Regions from separate parts of the Homo sapiens genome. Here region 1 is linked to region 2. Evidence: promoter capture Hi-C in human tissues and cell types (Jung and others, 2019). All regions are on one chromosome and are shown on one strand. Each heading gives the region's core, a stretch centred on a gene start or on the middle of the fragment in contact. The rest is flanking DNA. Distances are from core to core; before and after follow the strand shown. Region 1 overlaps BMP8A (bone morphogenetic protein 8a). Region 2 holds the start of BMP8B (bone morphogenetic protein 8b).

Evidence for each region. Contacts are between HindIII fragments. The study calls those that stand out against the background at their distance.
Region 1: a fragment that was not itself captured here is called in contact with the fragment with the promoter of BMP8B in region 2 in 1 of the 25 tissues and cell types used here (aorta).

What each region holds. Positions count from the first base shown.
Region 1 is chr1:39,513,780-39,520,702 of GRCh38, forward strand. All of the region lies in intron 3 of BMP8A (bone morphogenetic protein 8a), which reads left to right. It also overlaps the pseudogene OXCT2P1. Among named protein-coding and RNA genes, the nearest start is that of BMP8A, 26 kb to the left of the region's middle. RefSeq lists a silencer at 938-1,027. The HindIII fragment of the contact is 4,536 bases long and covers 2,401-6,923 here.
Region 2 is chr1:39,786,054-39,792,456 of GRCh38, forward strand. BMP8B (bone morphogenetic protein 8b) reads right to left here and starts at 2,812. Exons shown (of 7, transcript NM_001720.5): 1 at 2,099-2,812. The coding sequence starts at 2,432. It overlaps LOC101929536 (a long non-coding RNA gene), which reads left to right and starts at 2,923. Exons shown (of 1, transcript NR_135805.1): 1 at 2,923-4,118. RefSeq lists a silencer at 2,764-3,363 and an enhancer at 2,918-3,419. The HindIII fragment of the contact is 10,857 bases long and covers 1-5,969 here.

The sequences.
Region 1 (6,923 bases), core at 3,419-5,918, 270 kb before region 2:
GGGATGGGACCAGGTCATCTAGGGAAGGAGGGTAGTGATGGAGAAGAAAGAGGGCCTGGCCCAGAGCCCTGGGACCTCCAACATCCAGAGACCTCACAAGGAGGGGCCACAGAGAGCCCACAGAGACCAGCCAGGGAGGGAGCAGGACACCTGGAGGATGAGGTGATCCAGACGCCAGAGTAAAGTGTTTCCAGAAGCAAGGGTTTGTCATTTGTGTCCTGCTGTGGGCACTGAAGGCAAGAACAGAGAAGTGACCAAGGGTTTTGCCATCACAGAGGTTGTTGATGACCTAAATATCCGTGGAGTGTGGGTCTGACTGAGGAGGTGGAGGGAGACAGGCAGTGGAGGCAGGAGACAGCTCTTTCCAGAACCTTTGCTGGGGAAGGGGAGCAGAGACATGGGCTGGGGCTGGAGAGAACCCGGGACAAGGCAGGTCCTTTCCAGGTGAGGAGACGCCTGCACGCTGCTGTGGTGATGCAGTGATTCTGTGCAGAGGGAAGAAAACTGCAAAATTCCGCACAAGTTGGAGCAGGGAGCTGGAGTGGGGGAGGTGGAGAGGGCGGGGGGATGCAGAGGACAAGACGGGGGGCCTCTTCAGAGCAGGGACCCTTCCTGATGGAGGTGAGGGATAGTGTCCCCACTGTCGCAGTGAGGGGTGAACCTGAGCTCTGGGAGGCTGTAGTGGGGCAGGCACTCACTCTCCGGGTTGTCACAGGATTAAAGGAGGGTGCTTGGCACAGAGTGATGCCCAGTGAAGGTGTTCATGAGCGTCGGTGTCACCCAGCGGCGCCTGCTCATTGGACACTTGGTGTCTTTAATGAGCTGGGGAAGCTGGGGGGAAGCTTGGGCGGGGTGGTTGGAGTTTGTGTCTGAGGCTCCACTGGGGCAGGAGGGGACCTAGCCTGTGCCCTACTCGCGGAGCCTGACCTCAGCTCTGTCCTGCGCCCGGGCCTGTGCGCTGGACACGGAGGACTGACTCGGGGCCCCCAGCCCAGGGCGGAGCCGGCCCCCTCCCTGTTGCGGGTCGCGGGCCTGGCCTAGAGCCTGCGCCTGGCCGGGGAGACCTGCTGGGAGGGAGTGCGTCAGGGCGCGGGCGCCCGCCCTGCTCTGTGACGCGCGGCCCGAGGCGCACGCAGGGCTCACACCACTTGTCCTGGCCTCCGACCCGGGCCGACTATGGCGGCGCTGCGGCTCCTGGCGTCAGTGCTCGGGCGCGGGGTCCCCGCCGGCGGCTCAGGGCTCGCGCTGTCCCAGGGCTGCGCCCGCTGCTTTGCCACCAGTCCCCGGCCCCGTGCCAAGTTCTACGCGGACCCGGTGGAGATGGTGAAGGACATCTCTGACGGGGCGACCGTCATGATCGGGGGCTTCGGGCTCTGCGGGATCCCCGAGAACCTGATCGCCGCGCTGCTCAGGACCCGCGTGAAAGACCTGCAGGTGGTCAGCAGCAACGTGGGCGTGGAGGACTTCGGCCTGGGCCTCCTGCTGGCCGCCAGGCAGGTCCGTCGCATCGTCTGTTCCTACGTGGGCGAGAACACCCTGTGCGAGAGCCAGTACCTGGCAGGAGAGCTGGAGCTGGAGCTCACGCCCCAGGGCACCCTGGCCGAGCGCATCCGCGCGGGGGGCGCCGGGGTGCCCGCCTTCTACACCCCCACGGGCTACGGGACCCTGGTCCAGGAAGGGGGCGCCCCCATCCGCTACACCCCGGACGGCCACCTGGCGCTCATGAGCCAGCCCCGAGAGGTGAGGGAGTTCAACGGCGACCACTTCCTTTTGGAGCGCGCCATCCGGGCAGACTTCGCCCTGGTGAAAGGGTGGAAGGCCGACCGGGCAGGAAACGTGGTCTTCAGGAGAAGCGCCCGCAATTTCAACGTGCCCATGTGCAAAGCTGCAGACGTCACGGCGGTGGAGGTGGGGGCTTCCCCCCAGAAGACATCCACGTTCCTAACATTTATGTAGGTCGCGTGATAAAGGGGCAGAAATACGAGAAACGAATTGAGCGCTTAACGATCCGGAAAGAGGAAGATGGAGACGCTGGAAAGGAAGAGGACGCCAGGACGCGCATCATCAGACGCGCAGCTCTGGAATTTGAGGACGGCATGTACGCCAATCTGGGCATAGGCATCCCCCTGCTGGCCAGCAACTTCATCAGTCCCAGCATGACTGTCCATCTTCACAGTGAGAACGGGATCCTGGGCCTGGGCCCGTTTCCCACGGAAGATGAGGTGGATGCCGACCTCATCAATGCAGGCAAGCAGACGGTCACGGTGCTTCCCGGGGGCTGCTTCTTCGCCAGCGACGACTCCTTCGCCATGATCCGAGGGGGACACATCCAACTAACCATGCTTGGAGCCATGCAGGTTTCCAAATACGGCGACCTGGCGAACTGGATGATCCCTGGCAAGAAGGTGAAAGGCATGGGCGGTGCCATGGACTTGGTGTCCAGTCAGAAGACCAGAGTGGTGGTCACCATGCAGCACTGCACAAAGGACAACACCCCCAAGATCATGGAGAAATGCACCATGCCGCTGACCGGGAAGCGGTGCGTGGACCGCATCATCACCGAGAAGGCCGTGTTTGACGTGCACAGGAAGAAAAGGCTGACGCTGAGGGAGCTCTGGGAGGGCCTGACGGTGGACGACATCAAAAAGAGCACGGGGTGTGCCTTTGCTGTGTCCCCGAACCTCAGGCCCATGCAGCAGGTGGTACCCTGACGGGACCTGGATCTGGGCGGGGTGGTGCGCTCCTCAGGGCGGATGCCACCGGGTTCCCCAGGGGAATACATGTCCCCAGCTCTGGGAGGGGTTTGCTACTGGCCTCCTACTTTCCTCCCTAGGTGGACAGTGCTCCTCTAGAGAGCTGCGACTTTAATTAAAAACAACAGGAAAACAGATCAGTTCCTCACTGTGTTTCTCGAGCACTGCAAGGCGCAGGTCTGCAGTGGTGAGGAATGGATGTCCGCTTTGCTCTGTGATGTTTACACAGAGCGTGCACAGCTCAGCGCATTCACAGCAAGATTTGATTCAAGCGCCTCCCTCGTACTTGAACCATGAAATGGAGATAAAAACTGACGAGGGAGAAAATCACTCAACCCAGAGTACACCTGAAGGGACATTTTACTACTGCAGTGAGAAATAGGCGAGCAAAGATGTGAGTTTGTGATTGGAAGACATGCTATCTTCATGAGCTTGTTTTTTCTTTTTCCTTCTCTTTCTTTTTTCTTTTTTTTTGAGGCAGGGTCTGGCTCTGTCACTCAGGCTGGAATGCAATGGAATGCAGTGATCTCACTGCAACCTCTGCCTCCTGGGCTCAAGCAATCCTAACTCAGCCTCCTGAGTAGCTGGGACTACAGGCGCACATCACAATGCCTGCTTATTTTTTTTTATTTTTTAAATTTATTTATAGAAATGGAGTTTCACCATGTTGCCCAGGCTGGTCTTGAACACTTGAGCTCAAGCGATCCACTTGCCTCAGCCTCCCAAAGTGCTGGGATTACAGACATGAGCCACTGAGTTGGGCCAATTAACCTTAGCTTACTGTAATTTTTTTTTCTTTTTTAGACAGAATCTCACTCTGTTATCTAGGCTAGAGTACAGTGGTCCAGTCTCAGCTCACTGCAACCCCTGCTTCCTGGGTTCAAGCAATTCTCATGTCTCAGCCTCTCAAGTAGCTGGGATTACAGGCATGTGCCACCATGCCTAGCTAATTTTTGTATATATATTTTTAACAGTAGAGATAGGGTTTCTCCATATTGGCCAGGCTGGTCTCAAACTCTGGGCCTCAGGTGATCCACCTGCCTTGGCCTCCCAAAGTACAGGCTTGAGCCATTGCACCCGGCCTTCTTGAACGTTTTTATCCGTTATCTGGTATTTCTTCTGGGGCCTTTGTTGTTAAATTTTGTTTCCCTGAAGCCTCCCCTCCTCCTCCCACATCTCTCCTCCTGGGACCTATGAGATGTTAAGCTTCTAGATGTCCGTAGAAGGAAAGCAGGACCATCTCCAAGGGAAGGGACCGGGTGATGGGAGAGACTGAGAGGGGAGAGGCTGCCGGTCCTGAAATCCACCAGGAAGCTTCCTCTATCTGTGTGTGGCCAAAGGCTACAGCCTAGGACAGGAGGAGTTCTAGAACCCTAACCAAGGGACTAGATGAGTTTTCTCAGCTTCATTTGAATTGTTCCTGCATCATTCACACCAGACACTTAGGCCCTCCTCTCTGGGATGGAGGCCCAAACTGGCCACTTGTGTGATGGTCCGTTGTAACCCAAGAGGCTGCGAGGCATTTCCTCCTGAATCTATAGTCTCAAAAACTAAAATTAAGATTGTGTGTGTGTGTGTGTGCGCATGCACGCGTGCACACGTGCTGTTGACAGCCAAGCCTGGCCTGGTGCATGCACTGCATAAGTGTAGCTCTGGGGGTTCCCAGGCCATTGGGGGCATGTGGTCAGAGTAGTAAGTTCTCACTGGTCAAGGACAGACTTTCCAGGGGCCCATTGGAGCCTCACCCTGCAGGAAAGGCCAGATCCTGGGAAGGAGAGCAGGGCAGGGAGAGTTGGCGCTCATGGAGGGCACAGACTGGGGGTGTGGAAAAGGGGCCAGGGACTATGGCTGGGGTTGGGGGCTTGAAATGAAATGTCATCTAGTGGGCAGTGGGGTGCCTTTTGGGGCTCCTGGAGAGGGGCACCTGATTTGCCCTGGGCGTCAGTTTCCCAGGAGCAGTGTGGAAAAGGCTGAGGTATCTAGAAGCGGACAAGTGACCCTCTGGGCCTCCAACTCCACCTTTCTGGAAGGGGCCTGCCCACAGCTGGGCAGCCTGAGAGCCCCCCACCTTGACTGCTTGGCCTTCCCTGCAGCCAGCTGGAGCCAGGGAGTCCTGCCTAAGAATGGGTGGGTAAGAAGCAGAGCTGATGGAGAAGGGAGGCTCTGGGCTCTGGAAGGAGAGGGCTGGGGATGGGGGAGCTTCTCCAGGCCTGCCAGATGCAGGGCTCTGAACCCAGACCCACTGTTAGTCCCCTTCACCACCCCCCATCTTGCCCAGCCACATCCAGCTGGGCCCTGCAGTTTGCTGGAAAAGTATATGACAATCCTGGCTCCGACCCACCTTGCTCTGGGACCTTGGACAGTTGCTGCTCTCTCTGGGCCTTAGTTTCTGCTTCTGTAAAATGGGAACCTGGGATTAGCTGCTTCCAAGGTTTCAAGGCTCGCCTGGCCTGTGAGACCTACAGAGGGGTTCCCAGCACCCAAGCCAGGCCTGGCTCAGAGGGGCTCTGTGAGGGTCTGTGGTGTAACTGATCTAATGCGACATTCTATCCTGTGTCTGGGAGACCCCCCATAAGACCCTTGAACACAGCTGCACAGAAGCAAATAGTGAGGAAAGCCTGCAGGACTGATGGCCTCTCAGGCCCCATAGCAGGCAGGGCTCCCCAGGGAGTCACAGGACAGAGCTGCAAGTGGAGCCAGGAGGGCTGCCCTGGGCCCCAGGCTGTCCCCATGGGTCAGCCAGTCTGCAGAGTGACACTCCAGTGCCCGGGCTGGTGACCACCACCACCCCACTCAGGCTGCTCTGTTCTCTCTCCGTTGTGACCTCACTTGTCTTTTCCTCTGTGCCCCAGCTCTGTTCCTTGTATTTCTGCTGCTTCCCCATAACCTTGACTCACCGTGACTCAAGCCCTGCCCAGTGGATTCTCTCTGGGCCTCCTTCCCATGTTAGCATCTGCAGCTCACAGCCTCCCTGTCTCAGCAGCTCTTGTCCATGCTCGTGAGAGGGAGGGAGCCTCTCCTGCCAGTGCATTTGTTTGTGGCGGATGATGTCACGGGTCAAAGGTTGGTCTCTGGATTCACTGGTTGTTCAGTCAAGTGGCCAAGGGACACCAGGGCTGAGGCACAGCTGCTTAAGGGCTGACCTTTGAGTGGGACTGAGGGTGGGGCAGGCAGTGTCCTTGACCTGTAGGGTGTACTGGAGAACTACGTAGGAATAAATACATCTGTGTGTGTGATGTCTGTCTGAGCGTATGTGCATCTGTGTGTTTATGCAAACATATGCCTGTGTGTACATACGTGTGTACATCTGTGCTTATAACATGGAGGTGAAATGTACTTTCGTGTAAACTGAACAACTGGCACTGTTTAAAGAGACATGAAAATGAGCTGGTAATCATGCTTCTGCAATTCAGTATCAGGAAATTTCACCCATGCACGGAGTGAAGAGGCTCCATTGCACTCCCATCTTTATCATGAAAGCCGGGAAATAACCTACATGTCTATGATGAGCCAATATCAAGTCAATTACGGTATACTGCTCCAAGGGATTTTATAAATTTGAAATGTTTATTGTGGAGACTTATTTAAACAACCAGAAAAAGTTTTGTGTTTTGTTTTTTTTTCCTTGAAACACACTCTCATTCTGTCGCCCAGCTGGAGTGTGGTGACACAATCACACCTCACTGCAGCCTCAACCTCCCAGGCTCAAGCAGTCCTCCCACCTCAGCTTCCCGGGAAGTTCACCACCATGCCCAGCTCATTTTTGTTTTTATATTTTTGTTGAGACAGGGTCTCACTATGTTGCCCAGGCTGGTCTCAAATGCCTAGGTTCAAGCAATCCTCCCACCTCGGCCTCCCAAAGTGCTGGGATTACAAGCGTGAGCCACCTTGCCTGGCCTCAAAAGTTTCTTTACTTAATTGCTTTTACAATAGAAAGGTTATTGAAATCCAAACAAGTACAGGATGATACACAGTTTTATTGGTGAGGCTTGGCATCTCCAGGGTTAGTTATCATGTTTTCAGCGGCATCCTCAGTCTGGAAGCGGCTGTGGGGGACAATCCCGTTTACAGGCTTCACTCCTCCTGGGGCTGAGGCCCAAGTCAGATCTCTGTTTCAGCCTTTTCTTTCTTTCTTTTCTGTCCATAAGCCCAGCTCGTGCATAAGAACTC
Region 2 (6,403 bases), core at 1,562-4,061:
GTGGATGTCACCCCGGATGTGCGGTGTGGCCCTGGGCTGGCTATTTAACCTCTCTGAGCCCATGAAACAGGGCTGGCAAAACAGTCTCACATGAGTTAAATGAGGAATTGTAAGGCTGTGAAAGTTCACATGCTACTTTTCATTCTAAAAACAGGTACAAACACTTTTTGATTGGCTTTTAGAATCCATTTCTAGGTTTTACATGTGTATAAGACATGTGGAGATGTTCCTGTCACCTCCGAACTAGGCCACAGCTGGGAGGGCCTGGGGCCAACAGTGCCCAGGTCCAGGTTCACCCTCTGAGGGGAGCAGCACAGGCTTTCTACTCCTGCCCCTCTACCAATCACACAACAACCCTGAGGACAGATCACCAGGCACCTCATTTTACAAGGAGCAACGAAGGCTGAGAGGGTGAGGAACTTTCCTAAGGTCACACAGAGGGGTAGGCCCTGCCCAATTCATAGCAATAGCCCCACCAGGCTGTGCATGCCTTGACCCAGGGGATGCCAGGGGAGGTCGGATGTGGGCTGGGTGGTGACGCATTCTGATGGGCGGCTCCCTGGGGACATTCTTGGACGACTCCATCCACAACTCTTCTTGGTCCTGAGCCCAGTGTCAGCCTGTCCTGATGACAGAGCCCCAGCCCCAGCTTCACAGATGGTCTCCTCTGTCCCACATCCCCACCCTGTCCTCTAACTACAAAGGCAGCATCCAGATCCCACCGGCTAGAGTCCTGTCCCTGGCACTGGGCGCTCAGTGATGGTGAATGGCTGCCTCCTGCTGCTCGCCTCCACCACCAGCTCTGGGTTGCGGGAAGCAGAGGCTTGGCCATGCCCTCTTCTGTCCTAGTGTAGGAAGCAAATGGCTGATGGCCCCACAAAACCTGCTGCGGCTCAGTCCCCTGTTTTCCTCAGCCCAGACTCCTCAGAAAGGTCTCTGCACCTTGAAAGCCTGACCTGACAACAGAAATGTCATCTCTTTGAGCCCTGGATGGACAGTCAGGCTTCCTGGGCCTGTCCTGGCTCAGCAGCGTAGAGGCTGCGCTGTCCTAGGCATGGCGCTGCCTCTCTGAGCCTCACTGTCCTCATCTGGGAGATGGGGATGAAGACCGTGGCTGTTATCAGGGTTGTCGGGAGGATGAAGAATTAATGATGCTGTCTGTGGAGGGAGGCTGATGGCCGGGGCCAGGGACCCTCTCCCTCCTCTCAGCCCCACAGCTCCCCGACTTTGGGCTGATCTGTGGTCCTTGGTTCCCCAGACCCCAGACTGTCACTAGCCACAGACAGGAGGCAAAGCAGATGGGTGACCTGACCAATAGTAACTACATGACCATAGACCAAAGAGTTTAGTACTGGAAAAAAAATCTCTGAGATCTTAGGGAATAAATAGCTCCAGGGTTTGATACAAGATATTTGCAGACAGGAAAAGCCGGGCTTTGCCTGGGAGAACAAAGTGGGTCCAGCTGCCCACTGGACCATTCCACAGGACTGGACACTCACCCCATACCAGATCACATCCCAGGTGTTGGGCCCAGGGTGACAAGGCAACAGTCCCTGCCCCAGCGAGCTGAGTTTGCTCCTTCCCCAGCCGCCCCCCTGACAGCCGCACCCCACCCAGGCTCCGCACAGAGAAGAGCCTGCTGTGGACTCAGGGCACGCGACTCAGCTCTGGTCACTCCGATGTGACCACAGGTTTCCACGCTGAACTTTGTCCCTCTCCTCAGTACTGCCCTTATCACAGTGACAGCATCCCGGCCTCTGTTTACTCACCTGTCTCCCCAGGACCAGGCTGTCTTCCCGGGGCAGCCCAGGTGGGCAAAGACATCACCTGATTCTTACTCCTGGGTGTGTTTGGGGCAGGGTGAAGGCAGCGCCTGGGAGTCCACAGTCCCCCACACTCTGCTCCTGACCACCCCGCAGCCCAGGGGGCCCCCATGACCCTTAGACCTTCCCTAACCACGGCGGTCCCACTCCCCTGTGGTTCGCGTCCACCGTCTGTGACTCCCCGTTCGGCCAGGGCCCGGCACAGCCCGCGGATGCGCGCCCCTCCCCTGCAGCCAGCTTACTCCGAGGGTCCCCGCGCGGGCGGCCGCACTCACCCATGTTAACGAAGCTCATGACCAGGTCGGCGCGGCCCAGGCGCCGCTCCGCGGGCGCGCCGTCCTCGTCGTCGTCGCCGGCCATGGCGTGGTACAGGTCCAGCATGAAGAGCGGCGCGGACGCGGGCAGCCGGGAGGCGGCGGGTGGCGCGCGGGGCCGGGGCCGCCCAGGCAGCCCGAGCACCGCCAGGATCTCGCGCTGCACGTCCCGGCGCTCGCGCGCGCCCAGACGTCGCTGGGGACAGCCGGGCGGGGGTCGCAGGCCGGGGCCGCCCCCGCCCAGCGCGCATAGCGCCAGGCCCAGGAGCCAGAGCGGGCCGGGGAGCGCGGTCATGGCAGGCCGGGGGCGCTCAGCTGGGGCGCTCAGCGGGCGCGCATCGGCTCCGCGGCCGACCCAGGGCCTGGGGACGCCCCGACGGCAAGGAGGCTGGGCTCGGCGGGCGGCGGGCGGCGGGGCGGGGCGGGACGGGCGGCGACCGCGGCCTCAGCGCGGTCCCTGGAGCGCCCGCCGCGCGACACCTGTCCTGGCTCCTGGACGAGAGGACGCGGACGCCACCGCCTCGAGGCCGGGGCTACTCTGCGGACTGGGACTCTCGGCCAATCCGTCTGTCGCCGCCGTACCCGCCAGTCCGGCTGTGGCCGCGGTCCGAGCAGCGCAGGGGCGATGGGCGAGCTCCTGCAGCCACCCGCTTGGTGCGGTTCCCGCGAGTCCCTGCCCTGCCCTGCCCAGCGGTCCGCGTCGCCCGCCCCCACCCCGGGACTGACCAATGGGGGGGCGGGGGCGGGGCCTGGGAGCGGGGGCCACGCCTGCGAGGGGGCCCGGGGCTGCGGCCGGTGTCGCGGGTGGGGAGACCCCGAGGTGCTACCTGGGCGTGGCGGGTGGGCAGGCGGCCCGGGCGAGGGGCTCGCAGCCTGGGCGTCAGCGTGGTCATGGCCGTCGTGGCTTCCGCCGCGGGCCTCGGCGCAGAGATCCTAGGGCCGCGGCGCCCTTCCGGTCCCGCCAGTGGTGCCACCCGGCCGCCCCGCCGTCGCGTGCGCGGGTCGCCATGGCATGCTGCAGGCGCCTCCTTCCCGGCACCTGCTCAGCTGCTCCTCCCCGCGCCCCCACCTGGCTCCCGCGTGAGCCTGGGCAGCGCCCCAGGCAGGCCGCCCCCGCCAGCCCTCGCTGCGCGGCGTGCGCCCCCTGCGCCCCCAGTACTGATCCAGCTTCGCGGGGGAGACGCGCACCCGCCTCCTGCCTTTAGCCGGGCCAGGAGCTCTGGGGCCCTTCTGGAGCACCCGGGAGCCACCTGTGCACTTCTCAGTCGCCACGGCCCCGGTGCAGGCCTGGCAGGAGAAGGATCCCCGCGGAAATGCCTCTACTAACTCAGCCCCTTTCTGCACTCTCTGCTCTTCTCTGGGCGCGCTCTCGCCTTACTTATTCCTGTGTGGTTCAGGCGCTGCGGAAGGAGAAGGCACCTAGACTGTACTGGGAAGGCTCCTGGAGTTGACCTGGAGCGCCAGGAAAGGTCAGTGGAGGAAAGTGCTCCAAGCAGAGGGAAGAGCTTGTGCCAAGGCCCTGAGACCCCGGCGGGGGAGCCTAATAATGGCAGGTAACAGTCAGCACTTGCCACGCGCGAGGCATGTTCTCAGTGTGTGTCTTGTGTCATTTCTGTGATGCTTGCACATCGTCAGGGGGTACCTACCACTGGAACCTCCTCTTTTAACAAATGAGGAAACTGAGGCACACAGCGGTTAAGGGACTTACGCTAGGTCACACAGCAGTAGAGCTGGGCTGGGGCAGGGGGCAGCTCCTCAAGTGGAACCTGGAGAGCCCACGGGGCAAATGGCGGAGGCTGGAGGGGCTGGCAAGGGAGGGACTGCAAAGGGCCTCACAGGGGCTAGACGAGGGCCCTGGGCACCAGTGATTATGGTGCCCCCCCATGTGGATTGAAGATTAAACCTCGAAGCAAGTGTATAATGCCCCCAAAAATCACATTTAGAAGTCATCACTTCAATAAAAATTTCTATATTAAATAAATTATTAATGTAAATGGTCATTTGCTGGCTCCTTAAGCACATGCCTAGTCTGTCTTTTACCGAAGAAGTAAATTTCTGCAAGGGTAAATAATAAAATGAAATAAAATAAATATTATTATTACACTATTCAGAGCACTAAAAGAACTACTTTTTCCTGATTACAGAGGTAACTTGCTTTTGTAGAAACTTTTGAAAATAGTTTCATAATCACTTTTGCACATCATCAGGGGGTACATACCATTGGAACCTCCTCTTTTAACAAATGAGGAAACTGAGGCACACAGCGATTAAGGAACTTATGCCAGGTCAGTACAGAAAAGTAAAAATATTACCCCCAACAAATTTTAAAATCACCCAAATCCCTGTTTCCAGAGATAATCACTGGTAATATTTGATGTCTCTTTTTCTTACATGTATGTGTATTTTTTCATACAAAAAACAGGATCTTATTTGCTTTATTAGCTTCACGTTATATTGCAGTATTTCACTATGCCATTAATTATTGCACACTTTTTTTACTGGCTTCGTGGTATTTTTTCATCATATTGTTATCATAATTTTTTTAATCAAGCTTATGTTATGGGATAATTATATTTTTATATTATATACTATGTTGTTATGAACAATCTTGTAGAATAATCTGTGCACATCCATGGTGATTTCTTTAGGATGAATTTCTAGAGATGGATTTTTTTTTTTTTTTTTTGAGATGGAGTCTTGCTCTGTCACCCAGGCTGGAGTGCAATGGTATGATCTTGGCTCACTGCAGCCTCCGCCTCAAGTGGTCTTTGTGCCTCAGCCCCCTGAGCAGCTGGGATTACAGGCGTGCACCACCATGCCTGGCTAATTTTTGTATTTTTAGTATACACAGGGTTTTGCCATGTTGGACAGGCTAGTCTTGAACTCCTGGGCTCAGGTGATCTGCCCACCCCAGCTTCCCAAAGTGCTGGGATTACAGGCGTCTAGAGATGGAATATTTGAATCAAAGAGCATATACACTTTTTATGGTTTTTGATACATATTATCTGTTGCCCCAATAGCACGAGGGTGCTTATTTTCTATCACCCTTACCAACACTAGATATAACTGTTAAATACATAAATAAATCAATCTCTGCTGGTTTGATAGATGAAAACCTCTCTGCTGTTGTAACTTGCATGTGGAGGGTTACTACACACTGCTCTCTTGTTTTTGAAACCCTGTCCTCCCCTGGCTTCAAGGACGCCTGCTCCCTTGCTGACCACTCCTCCCTGCCCACTTCTAAAACATGGATGTCTGCTGGGTCTGTCCACAGTCCTGTTCTCCCCTTAGACTTGACCTGGTGATGAGCTCATCCACTGAGGCTTCAGTGCCGCCATACAGTCACACCCAACTCCAAATATATTAGTAGGGCAGGCCTTCCTGCTAGATGCCAGAAGCTACATCCAATGACCGATAAGACATGACCAGAGCCAGAAGCCAAAACCCTGGCGCAGACACACGTCCCTCCCTCCCAAGGGCAGTTCAGTCTATTGATTCTACCTTCAAATGCCTCTTGAATCCCTGAGCCTGTGCACGCCCCTTTGCACTCAGGTGTTTCATGGAGCACCTCCTCCCCACTGGTCTCCTTATGTCTCATCTCACTACCCACCCCACCCAGCCCTCACTCATTCCGCAGAATGCATATTTCCAAATGAAAATCTGAATCCTTCCATGGCCTTTCATTGCTTACAGCAGAATTTCCCCAGGTGAGGATTCTGAGGGCTTTCCTGCAAAAGGGGTTCAGTACACACTGCGCTATATATTTCCCCCTTGGTAGAGCCCTCATGCACTTAGCACTTTGTAAGCTCTAGAAATCCTGCAGTAAAAATAAATAAATAAGTAAATTAAATAAATAAATAAATAAAAACCTGTTTAGCCTTAACTTGGCTTCTTCCAAATGCATGTGACTATAGCTTTTTAGTTTTTTGAGGACCACATCTTGGGGACCAGCAAGGCACAAGGTGATAAGCGCCCAGGACCCAGTGGTCTGGCATCATCACCTGGCCCCTGCTGCTGACCCATCTCCACAGTTTTTTTGTTTTGTTTTGTTTTTGTTTTTGAGACGGAGTCTTGCTCTGTCGCCCAGGCTACAGTGCAGTGGCGCAGTCTCGGCTCACTGCAAGCTCCACCTCCCGGGTTCACGCCATTCTCCTGCCTCAGCCTCCCTAGTAGCTGGGACTACAGGCGCCCGCCACCACGCCTGGCTAATATATTTTTTTTTTTTTTTGCATTTTTAGTAGAGACAGGGTTTCACTGTGTTAGCCA